4 separate regions of the Homo sapiens genome follow, and regions 1, 2 and 4 are each linked to region 3. The links are contacts of gene promoters, found by promoter capture Hi-C in blood cells and fetal thymus (Javierre and others, 2016). All regions are on one chromosome and are shown on one strand. The core of a region is centred on a gene start or on the middle of the fragment in contact, and the rest is flanking DNA. Distances in the headings are between cores, read along the strand shown.

Evidence for each region. The method cuts DNA at HindIII sites, captures the fragments that hold promoters and counts their contacts. A CHiCAGO score of 5 or more calls a contact.
Region 1: a contact is called between a fragment that was not itself captured here and the fragment with the promoter of MATN1 in region 3, in 13 of 17 cell types (megakaryocytes, monocytes, naive B cells and 10 more). The highest score is 11.1, in megakaryocytes.
Region 2: a fragment that was not itself captured here is called in contact with the fragment with the promoter of MATN1 in region 3 in 1 of 17 cell types (monocytes); the score reaches 5.3 in monocytes.
Region 4: a fragment that was not itself captured here is called in contact with the fragment with the promoter of MATN1 in region 3 in 2 of 17 cell types (total B cells and monocytes); the score reaches 5.9 in total B cells.

What each region holds. Positions count from the first base shown.
Region 1 is chr1:30,904,177-30,907,592 of GRCh38, forward strand. All of the region lies in intron 1 of SDC3 (syndecan 3), which reads right to left. Among named protein-coding and RNA genes, the nearest start is that of SDC3, 2.9 kb to the right of the region's middle. The HindIII fragment of the contact is 1,056 bases long and covers 1,333-2,388 here.
Region 2 is chr1:30,864,159-30,867,567 of GRCh38, forward strand. No RefSeq gene overlaps it. Among named protein-coding and RNA genes, the nearest start is that of LINC01778, 41 kb to the left of the region's middle. The HindIII fragment of the contact is 320 bases long and covers 1,978-2,297 here.
Region 3 is chr1:30,722,291-30,725,697 of GRCh38, forward strand. MATN1 (matrilin 1) reads right to left here and starts at 1,295. Exons shown (of 8, transcript NM_002379.3): 1 at 1,168-1,295. The coding sequence starts at 1,261. All of the region lies in intron 2 of MATN1-AS1 (MATN1 antisense RNA 1), which reads left to right. The HindIII fragment of the contact is 11,974 bases long and covers 1-3,407 here.
Region 4 is chr1:30,963,905-30,967,132 of GRCh38, forward strand. It overlaps PUM1 (pumilio RNA binding family member 1), which reads right to left. Exons shown (of 22, transcript NM_001020658.2): 13 at 2,078-2,374; 14 at 770-1,006. Among named protein-coding and RNA genes, the nearest start is that of SNORD103C, 2.7 kb to the right of the region's middle. The HindIII fragment of the contact is 1,749 bases long and covers 779-2,527 here.

The DNA of each region.
Region 1 (3,416 bases), core at 611-3,110, 180 kb after region 3:
ATCATACCACCACACTCCAGCCTTGGCGATAGAGACTCTGTCTCTAAATAAAATAAAATACTAAAATGAGGATTCTAATAATTCCTACATCAAAAAATTATTGTAAGGATGAAATAAGCCGATACATGTAAAGTGCTTGGTGGGCGGGGCTCTCGGTAAACATGACCTCTCTCTCCCACTTGGGATGAGCCCCCCCTCGCTCTCCCCACCACTGCCACCACTCCTGCTGCCCCGGACCCCCCAGGGACCCTATGCCCGCTTGTATGAGGTGGGAGGAGCCACTGGGTTTCAAAAGGCCATTTTTTTTGTTTTTTGTTTGTTGTTTTCTTTCACTTTTTTTTCCAGCACAGCTCACCTCGCACCAACCCCCAACACACTGAACTCACAGCTGGAGGCATTGTGCTCACTCCTCCCCAGAGAGCAGGAGGCTTCAGGTTCAAATCCCAGCCCTGCCTTGAGGATAGAGTCACAGCCCCCAGTAGTGATTCTAAAAGCCAAGTATTTGTTGCCCCCAGTTGACAGGTAAGAAAGCTGAGGGTCAGGGCAGGTTACAGCCTGCTACTGTCATGTGATGACCACTTTCATTGCTTAGCTCAAAACCCTCCTCCTCCAGGAAGCCTTCCCTGACCCCATCCATGCTCCCTCCCAGAAAGGTCCCATCTCCTGAGAGCTCACTACGTGGCAGGTGTGCTCGGTCTACTCAAGCAGCTCATTTCCAAGTCACAACATCCCTGTGAGGCTGACACCATTACTGTCCGCATTTTATAGACAAGGACTTTGAGACAGAAAGAAATCCCTCACTGGAAATCACACAGCAGGTGTCTGTCCCCAGAGCCCCTGGTACCTTGGGAGCTAACAGGCAGCATACAGCTGTGGTGTCCCTGTGCCTGTCCCCCAAATGCTGGAAGGGGAGATGGTTCACCCAAGAGCCTGGCCCAGAACAGCCCAGGGGCCCCCAACTTTCCATTTTTTTGGTGAGGACTATCTCATCCTGGAAACCCAAGGCTCACAGTCACCCAGGGGAGCCTGGAGGGGAGAAGAGCAGGGATGCTTGAAACAGGGTGAGGAAGGAACGGAAACCACCAGGCCTGGGGCTGAGCTTCAAAAGAATTCCCTACTAATTCCCCCACCCCACCCCACCCCCACCCCCACCCCCATCCGTACTCTCTCTCTCTCACAAACACACACACACACACACACACACACACACACGTCTCCCACCCTTCCACTCCCCACCCCTCCTGCCTTCCCAACCACAGTACAGCAACTTTGTAAAAGAACAAGAAATCCATATTTGTTGAGCCCTTAGTAGGTGCCAGCCACTGGGCTAAAAGCTTTCCAAATTAAGCCCTTCCATTCTCGCATTGTCTCCATTTTAAAGAGGTGGAAACTAAGGCACAGAGAGGTTAGGTAACTTTCACAAGGTCACACAGCCACAAGGTAGTGGTCTCCCATCACTGGGAGTATTCAAACAAGACTAACACCTAAGATCCCTTCCAGCCCTGGACTTTTGAAAGAACATGTTTCAAAAGCTAAAATGTTCAGGATCCTCACACTCCAAAACTTTGAGTGGTGACTTAAGTACAGTAGCTGAGGTGGCCTTAAAGGCAGATGTCCCTCAGAGTCCTGGTAACTTGGTCTGTCAGAAGAGGGACTCCTCAAAGGAGATGCCAGGAGACAGACACAGACACACAAACACACACACACACACACACTGCAATTCACCATCTGCAGTGTGAATGAGGCCTGCTCTCCCTGCTATCCCCATGCTGAAAGACACGAAGACACACACACACACACACACACACACACAAAGGCTGGCAGGTGACCCAAGGGTCATCATGTCCCTGCCCTTCCCTGCCCTGTGCCAGCCACCGCTCATCTACCAAGGCCACCCCTGGAGCTTCCCTGGCTGGGGCTCTTCTGATCTAACCTCAGTCCCTCCTGCTGCAGGCACTGCCCTCTCCCTCTGGTGCGGAACCCCGGCAACCAGGTACCACCCATTAACCCTTTTCCTCCCAAGTCAGATGAGGACAAGAGGGATGATGCCCCTCCTTGACAGCTTGACCCATGGGAAGATGTGAGGCCTGGAGGACACTCCACTTCCCACCACCTCACCAGGCGCCCCAGTACCTGCCCTCCCCCAGGCCCCACCCACCATTTCAGCCTCTGGGCTCAGACTCCCAGGGTCTGCTTGATCTGCCACCCAACACTGGGTCTGAGCCACACCTCTCAGATTCAGGTCACCCGTGTTGCGAGGCCCTACTGTGCATGAGGCTATTAAATGCTCTCACTAAGTCCTTCCACCACCTCGTGGAGTATGAATTATTAGCCTTATTCAGCAAGGAAAGTGGCCTGCCCAGCGCTCCACCTGGCCTCCAAGTCTAAAGCTTTCTGTCCTGAGCCCCTTTCATTCATGTGCACACCACATGACTCCTGAGCTCCTTCTCAGGACACTCGTCAGTCATCCCATTGAATTTTTGCCCTCTGAGGAAGGGGTCATTAGCCCCATTTCACAGAGGGACAACCAAGGGTCAGAGAAGTAAGAGGACCTGCCCAAACCATGCCACGAATCGGCGGGGGTAGCAGGATTGGAACCCAGGGTTGTGTGATTCCCAAGCCTTTGATTTTAAGGATGGTCTTTCAGAAATTTGGCTGAGAAGGCGACCCCAGCTGCTAGGGTGTGCTGGGTCTCTATCCCTCCCAGGGACCTCTTCCTCTCACCCCACTTAGGGGAGAGCTGGGAATGAGACATCCTGGCCAGCAGGCACTTCACACAGGTCAGCCCTCAACACTTCCCCTCCCTCCAGCTGACAGCCCCCTAGATGGGGAAGGCTGAGGAGGGGCCTGTCCATCCAAGAAGCAAGCTTGGAGCCCCTGCCTGTCCTCCTCCTGTCTTACTGACTGGCCCACTGAGGCTGGGAAAGGGAAGGAACTTGCAGAGGGCGGCTGGGCACCCAGTGTTGCTTGAGAGGCCTGGGTCCTTTTCAGCCTGGGGGATGCAGGACAGCATAGCTCCTGGAACCAACCTGGGAGGCTGGACCTAGAAATCCCCAGCCCGCCTGAGCCAGAACCTGGACACTTGTCCAACAAGAACTCATCTGGGGCCTGGATCCCTCAAAGGGGGATGAGGTCCTTCCTTTCTCTGCCATCCCTGACGGAGCTGGGACCAAGCATGGCTGCTACGGTCACTCAAAGGGACACTCAAGGGTCACCTCATACATACCATCACCTCCACCTGCACATGCTTGGTTCCCCTCAGGGGTCCTCGTCCTATGTCCAGGGTCCCCCATGCACCTGCATGCACACGCTGCTATGTGCACTCACACACATTCATGGGTCCAAGCACACGCCCACCAGAGGTCTTTCACACACACACCCTCACCCACTGCAGCCACACACGGCCATAGCCAACA
Region 2 (3,409 bases), core at 888-3,387, 140 kb after region 3:
CACTCTATGATGTTCACGAGGTGAAATCGTCTAACAACATGTTCCTCAGAACACATCCCCGTCATTAGGTGACGCATGTCTGTACTGCAGTATCTTTGGTATCTTCATTTTTAGTGCTGTGCACCTGCTGTGTGTCATTGTGCTGGACACTTAGGTCTGCCCACTTTTTGGGTCCTCACAAATCTCTGCAGCGATCATCACTGTGCAAATGACACAGAAGAGGAAGCCAAGGCTTGGGGGGTGGGGAGGAGGTGAAGGGGCTTCCCCAGGATGACCTAAGAAGAACTAGCTGTGGCTAACTGTGAATGACACCTGTATGCCCCCAAACCCATGCCCTTTCCTTACAGCATGCCGGTAAGACTATTTCAATATTTCCAGCAAGACAAGATAAAGGTCTAGACTTGGCCAGAGCCTTGAAAATGGGCAGGGGTGGGCAGTGAGGGTAGGGGATGGTGATGAACAAACCTAATGTCCTCCAAGGTGGGAGGAGTAATCCCCAGCCAGCCCATCTCCCAGGACTGATGTGAATGGCAAGCAAGACCAAGGACTTCCTGAACAGTGCTTCATGAGCTGAAACACATGGCTCACTTGGGAAGGGCTGCTTTTGCTACTTTCTCTGGCAATGGACAAACACCTCTGGAGGAGGGAAATAGCTAAAGCCACGCGTCAGTCATGACAATTTCATGCAAATTATTTCAACAGAGCCATTCATAAGAGTCAGTTTTCATAAAACGGGAGGGAACAGGGTCCATGAAGGCACTGACCACTTGGAAGTGGATGACGTAGAGCCGAGGAAAATAGGGCATTGCGGGAGTTCACAGGCAGGGGTTGGGCGAGTGGCCAGGGCCCTAGACTTGCAGCAGGGGAGCCAGCTCTGCATTTCCTGGGGGTGCAACCTCAGGCCCCTCTGGGAATTGCTTTCTTTTACTTTTTTTTATTATTTTATTTTATTTTATTTTATTTTTTTTTTTGAGATGGAGACTCGCTGTGTCGCCCAGGCTGGAGTGCAGTGGCACAACCTCAGCTCACTGCAACCTCTGCCTCCCAGGTTCACGCCATTCTCCTGCCTCAGCCTCCAGAGTAGCAGAGACTACAGGTGCCCGCCACCTTGCCTGGCTAATTTTTTTGTATTTTTAGTAGAGACTGGGTTTCACTGTGTTAGCCAGGATGGTCTTGATCTCCTGACCTCGTGATCTGCCTGCCTCAGCCTCCCAAAGTGCTGGGATTACAGGCGTGAGCCACTGCACCCGGCCGCTTTCTTTTCTTTTAAAGCACTTTATTATGGAGAATTTAAAATGTAAACTTAGAGTAGATAGAATAATATAATGAAGCCCCTATGTGCCCATCACTCAGCGTCTATAACGATCAACTCAAGCCCCAACTTATTTCCTCCATTCCCTCACCCACTCCTCCCCATATTATTTTGAAGTCAATTCCAGACACCCTGTCACTTCATCTACAAATATTTCAGTCTGTATCTCTAAAAGGTAAGGATTCATTTAAAAAAAAAAAAAAAACCATAACTACAGGGCCCTTATCACATCTAAGAGCATTGACAATGAATCCTTAATAACAAATATTCACTCGGTCACTTGAGCCCAGGAGTTTGAGACCAGCCTGGACAACATGGCAAAACTATGTCTCTACAAAAAATATGAAAATTAGTCGGATATGGTGGCGAGCACCTGTAGTCCCAGCTATTTGGGAGACTGAGGTAAGAGGATCACCTGAGCCCGGGGAGCTCGAGGCTGCCGTGAGCCATGATCAGACCACTGCACTCCAGCCTGGGCGACAGAATGAGACCCTGTCTCAAAAAAAGAGAAAATATATATATAAAAATATATATATTTATGTTTTTACTCATTCACTCAGAGTTCAATTTCCACTTGCCTCATAACTGGAGCATTTTAAAAATATAATTTGTTCGAATCAGGATCTGAATCAGGTTCCCACATTGATTAGTTAACATTTCATTTAAGCTTATCTATAAATTCTCCATCTCTCTCTTTTTTTTGTCTTCCTTATAATTTATGTGTTGAAAAAAAACTGGATTGTTTTTCCTATAGAGTATCCCACAGTGTGGATTTTGCTGATAAGGCCAATGTGTTTATTGTAAACACATTGTTTATGATAAAATGGGGGTAATAATTGTCTCCAAGAATTAAATAAGATAATGTCTATGAATGAACGACGATAATTGGAAGGCATCCCACAAAGGTTGTGTGTTAATGCTTCGTTAGAGGCTTTCAAACTCCTAGTGCTCCTGTTGTTCTGGTGATATAACTGAGGTTCAGAGAAGCTTAGTAACCTGCCCACCCTCACAGCTAGCTCTTGGTAGGGAGGAGACAGCAGAATCCCACCGCACCTTCCAATTGCTCTAGGGCTTTGGGATTCTGCTGTTTGAGCCTCAGTTGCTCCATTTGCAACAACAGGCCAAGAGACCAGACCTGGGGCTTAAATGAGCTAACATGATACCTGGTACCTGGCATAGTGCCTCACCCTATTCCTCTTGCTGTCTGCCCTCTCTCATCCCTACTGGTTATCTGGTGGTGATAAACCTAGATCCTCGTGCTCTGAGCCCACCCTCAGGCCGGCAGAGGCAGGGTGGGCGGCCCTGGAAGCTGAGCACACTCTGTTCTCAGGGAAGCTTGGGCTGGGTGGCTGTGACCTCTTGGGCTGCAGGAAACAATCAGCTATTCTTCCTCCTTCCCTCTTGATTCTGTTGCTCATATCTTGGGTGAGGGGGCCCAGAGGGAAGTGCTCCAACTTCCAGCAGTGCCCAGCCTATCTGTGCCCAAATACATGGTTTCCAGGCTCTGCCCTTGGCTCTAACAAGCCTAAGTCATAGTTCATACTAGAGCTGACCCTGATAGTTTGATTTCTACCCAAGCTCAGTATCACTTGTTCAATCAATAGGCAGTGTGCTGGGCCCTGCAAATAAGAATAACAGTAATAACAATACAACAACAGCAGTAATAATTGCCCACATTTGTACAGCACCTACTCTATGCCTGCCATAGTTCTAAGCACTATGCATATGAGGCCAGTACTAGTATTGCCCCCATTTTACAAGTGAGGAAACTGAGCACTGAGTTTGAATTGTTCACCCAAGGTCACATAGCTAGTCACTGACAGAGCTAGGATTTGAATAAAGGTTTGCCTGGTAAAACGTAGGTGCTGCAAAGAGAAGAATAGAAATCCAGCTACAGATGGGCATGTATGCCATGCTTCATGCCTCCAAATACCAACCTTATTGTCCTCATTTGCCTTCAAGGAAATCGAGGCTCAGAGAGGTAGAGCAAAGAGTCTGCTTGACTTCAAGACCATGCTCTTTCTACTCCTCCAAGCTGAAAATAAAATCACATCACTAGAACTCAAGAGAGAAGGGGAGAAGGGTAGGAGGGAGACG
Region 3 (3,407 bases), core at 45-2,544:
AAGCAAATCACCAAAGTGGAACCAGTTTCCCTCAGCCTGGCAGCGCCTGCTGGCGGGTTGCCAAAGACAGGGAAAAGGAGCAGGAATTCCTGGTGGCCACCTCGGCAGCCTGATCAGGTGCACACCAAGACACACCCCCGAGGAGCAATGTCCTCCAGAGACCCAAGAAGGCAGCACCCTGTGCTGGGAAGTATGCAGGGTCAGAGTGAGTTCAGGCCTGGGTTCAAATCCTGGCTCAGCCACTCTGTGGGGCCCTGGGCAGATCATTGCACCTTTCTGAGCCTCCGTGATCTCACATGTCCAGTGGAGAGAATAAGGCTACTGTCACTGGCCTGGGCCTGCAGTCAGGAAGGTCTCACTACAAAGGCCCTTCCCTCCCCATCCCATGCGGAGTCTGAACTGAGCAGAGCCAATCCCAAAGAGGAAAGGGGAAACGTGCAGGGCCGTCCCAACCCCCAAGTCACAGTAACTCACAGTGCCCTAGACTGGGGCTCTGGACATCAGAGTTCCTCAGGAGACCTTAGAAATCACCATGCAGCAGGCTCCCTGCTGTCTACTCGCTAAGGCTACAAATGGGTAAACTGAGACCCAAAGAGGGAAAGGGAATTGGCCACACCGTACAGCAGTAGATCAATAACCTAGAGGCTCTGGCGCTATCTCACTGTGTGGTCTTAGGCCCTCACTGACCTCAGTTTCCCCATCTGTACAGGAAGAATGGGCATTCCAGGACTCAGTGCCCAAACCTGAAACTCTGGGGGGTGTTATTGCCCCCAGGGAGCCCAAGGCTGGAAGGACCTGCAAAGGGGGCATGAGCTCTTGGCATCCCAGGTCTGCTGTCATCAAAGAGCCATGGGCTCAGCCCTGGGCTTGGTGCAGCTCCAGACGTCAGCCAGCTCTCTGAGTAGCTTCTGCTCCCCAGAGACCTGGAAGACCAAGGTCCCTGCCTCATGCATGGTCCCTGAGGGCTGAGGAGCACCCCTGCCCTGACCCTTATAAGCACCATGGTCCCTGTCTGCTCCTGCACCAGCCCACTGCCCACCACTGCCGCCCTGCTCCCTTCCCCATCCTGGATCCCGTGTGCTCCCTGCCATATCGGTACCCAGCCCCCAGTGCTGAGGGTCAGGGCCCACTAGCTCAGTAGCCCCCATCTCACGCAAGCCCCCTCACCTCTGGACTGGGGGGCGAGGCCAGGGCTGCACAGGGCCTGGAGCAGCAGCAGCAGGCTGCAGAGCATGAGGCTAGTGCCAGAGAGGACCCTCATAGTTCTGGCAGCACGGGCAGCAGCCGGCACGGTTGTGGGACCAGTGGGGTCCAGGTCTTATCAACCCCACTGCCCGCCCAGCCTTTGGGTCAGGTGGCCCCCAACTGACGACTGACGTGGGGGCAGCCCGCCCTGGCCCCCAGCCCCCCCAAAGGGCGGGGCTTGGGCTGAATGGAGGTGTGTGTGCCCTGAGAGGGCGGGAGAGCCTGGCCCAGGCTTCAGAGGCCCCTCTGACCACAAGGGCTCCTTTGCTTGCAGAAGCAACTAGAGCGGCAGCTGGAATTTGGGAAATCTCAGGTGGGTGGGGGGTGGCTCTTCCAGGGGCTGGAGCCCGCGCTGCCTTGAAGCTCCACCCCAAGCCTAGGCATACCTGAGTCCAATGGCCCGGCCCAGCCCTGTCCTGCACCTTCATCCCACACCCAAATCCTTCCCCCACTCACAACCCCAAGTTTCTCATTAAATTCACTTCCCCTTCCCCAGCCTCACTGTGCCCTGCTCTCCGCACACGCCCTGCTCTCCAGCTACCCCTGGATTCTCCTCGAAGGCCTCCAGGCCATCACACATGCAGGGCCATCTGCCCAGAATCCTTTCCTCTCACTAACTCTCTGCCTTGTAGAATCTTTCAAGGTCATAATTAGGGCTAACATGTACCTTCACTGTTAGTATGGGCAGGGCAGTGGAGACCATGGTTAAGAGCACAGACTTGGGAGCCAGGTTACCTGGGTTTGCTATACCAGCAAACCACCTGTGTGACCATGGGCAAGTGACTTCACCTCTCATGTCTCAGATTGCTCATCTGGAAACTAGGGATGGTAATAGCGCCTCCTAGGGTTGATTCAAGGAGCAAAGGAGTTAGATGAGGTTTCTCAGTTAATCCTCTTGACAACTTTTTAAAGCAGCTACTGTTAAAGAACAGAGAGGTAAAATAACTTGTCTGAAGTTACACAGCTAAGAAGTGTTATTGCCAGGATAGAGCCCCAGGCCCGGCTCTCAGCCATGCTGCTGTCTCAGTGTAGCTTGATGTAGGTGGCTTCTCCCTGCCCATCTCTTCCCCCTGTGGGTCCCTGCTTGGCCCACCTCACCTGTCAGCCAGTGGATTCAACTCTGCATCAGGCCCAGCACAGAGAAGGCAAAGATAAAGCCTTCTAAACAAAGTAACATCAGCAGGAACGATCCCCTTCTTTGCATTTGGGTCAAGTAGTTCATGAGATAGAGCAGAAAGAGCATGGGCTTGGCTACCTGAGAGATCCAGGTTCAAAGCCACTTCTGCTCCTAACTGGCTGTGTGACCTGGAGCTGGTGACTTAACCTCTCTGAGCCTCAGCTTGCCATGGTGCAGTGGGAATGGTCGTTCTTGATCTGCCTGCCCCATGTGAGGGGCAAGAGGGGGACAGAAGTGGAAATGGAGTTAAAGGATTGTCATTGCTCCAGGAGGCAGAATCCTAAGACTTGGGACCTATGCACTTCACTCTGTGTAAATTATACCTCAATAAAAGGAAATGTACAGACAAAAAGCGACTGCTGGGTGCAGCAGACCCAACTCACCGCTACCACACTCTTTAGCAATAATTATAACAATCCCTTCCACCCTTGACATGGCAGTTACTCATTCTATCACTCTATCTCATTTGCTCACCCAACAAACCTGTGAAGTCAGCAGATTTGAGTCTCTTGGCCCATTTGTCAGATGGAGAAACTGAGGCCCAGAGAGGTTCACTGACTTACCCGAAGCCACCAGCCAGTTTAGGGGCAGAGCCAAGCCTAAAGCTCAGGCCTCACTCCCCTTTGCACCAGTGTTAGAGAAGGAGGAGGTTAAGAGCATTGCCTTCTGACTTTTTCCCCTTATATTTCATGTGTGCCTAATTCACTGCCCTCCCCAATTCCAAAAACCACTTGAAGCTGCTGATTCCTTTTTCTGCTACAACTTTGAAGTCGAATTCTTCTCCAGAGATGCTGCAAGGTGTGATGATGGTGGTGCCTCTCCCTTCCCAAAATGGTGTAATTAAGGTGTTACCTGTCTCCCCAAGGACGTGAGCTCCCTCCGAGCAGGGGGCTTGCCCGTCTCAGTCACCACTGAATCCCTGGGACCCAGCATGGTGCCTGGCACAGGATCTCTGGTAAGCAAATGAAGGAATGAATGAAAACTA
Region 4 (3,228 bases), core at 403-2,902, 240 kb after region 3:
TAAACTTAATACATAACTGCGGGAGAGGAGTATGCACCATGCTTGAGATAAGAAAACATCTCCCATGTCCTGAAAGATTTAGAGATTTGCCACCAAAAAAAAGGTAATATAATTTTCTTTTCATTCTTATAGCCTGCTGCTTGGGATCCTCTTTTTCTCTCCCTATTTTCTAGAATCTAGATGGTAATATTTTAAAATCCCATGCATAAAACAATCTAAATATTTAATAGGGAAATATACATCTCCTCATTAACATACTATATGGTTTGAGAGTTTATATTTACAAATATTTTAAAATATGGCAAAATTTTAAAAATAAAATGCTTTTTGTGAAAAAGCAAGATATTATATGTACATATAGCAGAGGGGAAATTTTGAAAGGAAATAAGGCAAAATATTAATTGTGGTGGTATTTCAGGTGGTGATACTAGGTGATTAAATTCTGTCTCTGTGTTTCCTAGCTTCACTGAAATGAACCTGTGTTTATATTGTTTACATTGAAATACTCTCACAGGTAGCCAAAGAATAAAATGTTCATACTAAAGCTAACTGAATATACAGGGAATGTACCCAAACTATAATAAAGCCAAAACTGCTATACTATCTATAGGTACAGCCTGAATAACATGAGGTATTTACGGAAGGCACAGAACACCCAGGACACTTCTAGTATAAAGGGACTGTCCTTTGCTTATGCAAAGTTCTTGTAATGTCATCGGTGGCAAGAGAGTTCTAGAGTTCAAGGTGGTGTTAGAGTAATGGTTCTTACCCAGGTTTAAGCTTGAAGAGGATCCATGTGAAGAGAGGGAAGGAGGTGGTGTCTGTGAATGTCCTGGTCCCTGACTAGGGAGAGGCATGCCCACGGGTCCAGGAGAGGAGGAAAAGCTAAGGCCGTTATAAAAACTGTGTCCAATGGGGGTCAAGCTGCTCGATGTCCTCTTATAAAGGTCACTGCTGCCAGTCAGGGAGTCACGGCGGGAGCCACTGCCAGTGTTGGAGTTTGCAACTAAAATGGAATTAAAACAATGCAGATAAGAACAGGCCTGTTCTTCGAAGAACAAGCCCAGTGACCTGTTCCTAACACTTTGATCCAGACTCCTTACCACCGCAAATTTGTCAGCAGAGACAGCCTAACTGTTAATGTAGCAGTACTAGGGGCAGATAAGTAATAAAGAGGACATGGCTCAGGTTAACATGACCATCAAACATATGCCAAATTTACCTTCCTATGGTGTCGTATATTATAGGATAAGGGAGGGTTAAAAAGCTCTGACGGCCACATGAACTATGGAAAAGGTGGAAGAAAATGGACTAGAAGAATGCCTTTCATCAATTGAAAAGGTTCAAGTAGAAAAATGGGATACAGAAAAAAGATTTGTAAATGGGGTACTGCCCCACTACACAAGACTTCTATATGAAAGCCTGTTTTCTCAGTGGGTTCAATCGAGAGTTAATGCTGCCCTCAATTCCAATTAAGATACTTTCTTTCACACATGCCCTTCTATTTAGGGATCACTTTTGTTTGTTTGTTTTTTATAATCTCTGCAATTATCCCATTATTCACCATACTACACTCCTGCTTTTTTCATCAAAACATTAAAAATATCTTGGTCTAATATCCTTCCTCCTAATTTTCCACATGTCTACCTTAAATTCTACTCAAAAGACTGAAGAAAACTTGTAACTCTTTAAGGCCTGCAGGCCAAGAACTCGGCTCAGTCTCAATTGTGGAGTATTTCAGCTCTGCTATCTTTAGTAAGTCCTCCTCCCTCAGTTTTTGATATCAATTTCTACAGTTCCCTCAATATTTTTCCCAAATACAGCAAAAATCTTCCCTAGATTTCAAATCCCTGAAAGAAACTGATTAAGTAAGTAGCCACATGAGCATGGATTGAAATAGGTCCCATCTGTATAACTTGATTTCAATAGTCTATCATCTCACAGATTATGTGGGATGGCTGGATTCCCACAAGGCTTGGTCCAGATCTGCCTGTGGTTCCATGCATTGCCAGTATTCCAGAAGGATTGTAAAAATAATTAAAATTCAGTCTTAAGAGCATATCAGTCTAATTTCTACCTGCTGTTCCAAACCCTCCAAGGGCGGATCCCAGGGTGGCGCCGAGAGAACTGCTACTTCCGAATCCCAAGGATGTGTTGGCAGGCTGGGCAGAGCCCTGGGAGAAGAGGGAGCTGCTCTGTGAATTGCTGTTCAGAGAGTTGTTGCCGTAGAAAGAACTGGATGCCAGGTTGTTATTGGGCTGCTGCTGGGGCTGGGGCTGAGGCTGCTGTGTTCCTAAAGGGCGAAATGGTCCATTTGTTGTTCCAGCAAGACCACCAGCTGCTCCATTTGCTGAAGCTGCGGCTGCTGCAACAGCTATGAAGAAGAAAGCAAACCGTTTGGCTATGAAAGGGACTGGCCACATTTCCAAACTACATTTTTATCTTTTTTCAAAAAATCTTTTAATGCTGCCTATCTTTTCAAAACAGACACAAACCATACAAATCTGTCTTTGATCCCTTCATATGAAGCTTCTATTTTCTGTTTCTACTTTCAATTTGAACTCAAAATACCACTAGAACAAGTTCACTATGCTGGTTGCTTTTAAGAGTATACAGATTAAAAGGGGTATAAACATCAAATGTATCCATTAAATACAACTACTTCCTAAAATCTTAAATTCCATAAATATCTATGTTGAGGGTTTCTTCTAGAACCATGTAATGCACATACACATCCTTCAAATTCCTATTTTAGCACACTGCTGTCTTCTAGATGTTCCTGTTATTGTTCTTAATTAAAAAATAAATAAATATAAACACTTAAAGTAAAAAACTATTACTCCTCCCAACCAAATGTATTATTTTGTCACTTCTCACTACTCTTTCCCACGTCCTCCACTCCTGCCCCTGTGGCAAAAAACAACCCCTCCTCTAAAATTATCTTAAAATAATGACTTGGATTTCTGCCAACAAAGCCATTTTGTGTGAGTAATGCAACTTCTATGTTCTCAGTGGAGCCAGACCTTCAGACCTTGCTTCTAACCAGCTGGCACATGCCACCCCTCCCCCAACCCACCAACCCCCCAACAAAAAGGAGAATCCACTAAGGTCACTTATTGCTTCTGATCTCTTTTTGAAACATTACAGGGTAGAACCGATATACTGAGAATTGCCAAAAGTTTATTTCAACATACTTTAAGAATCTCACTATCAGTCGCCACTTTTAGA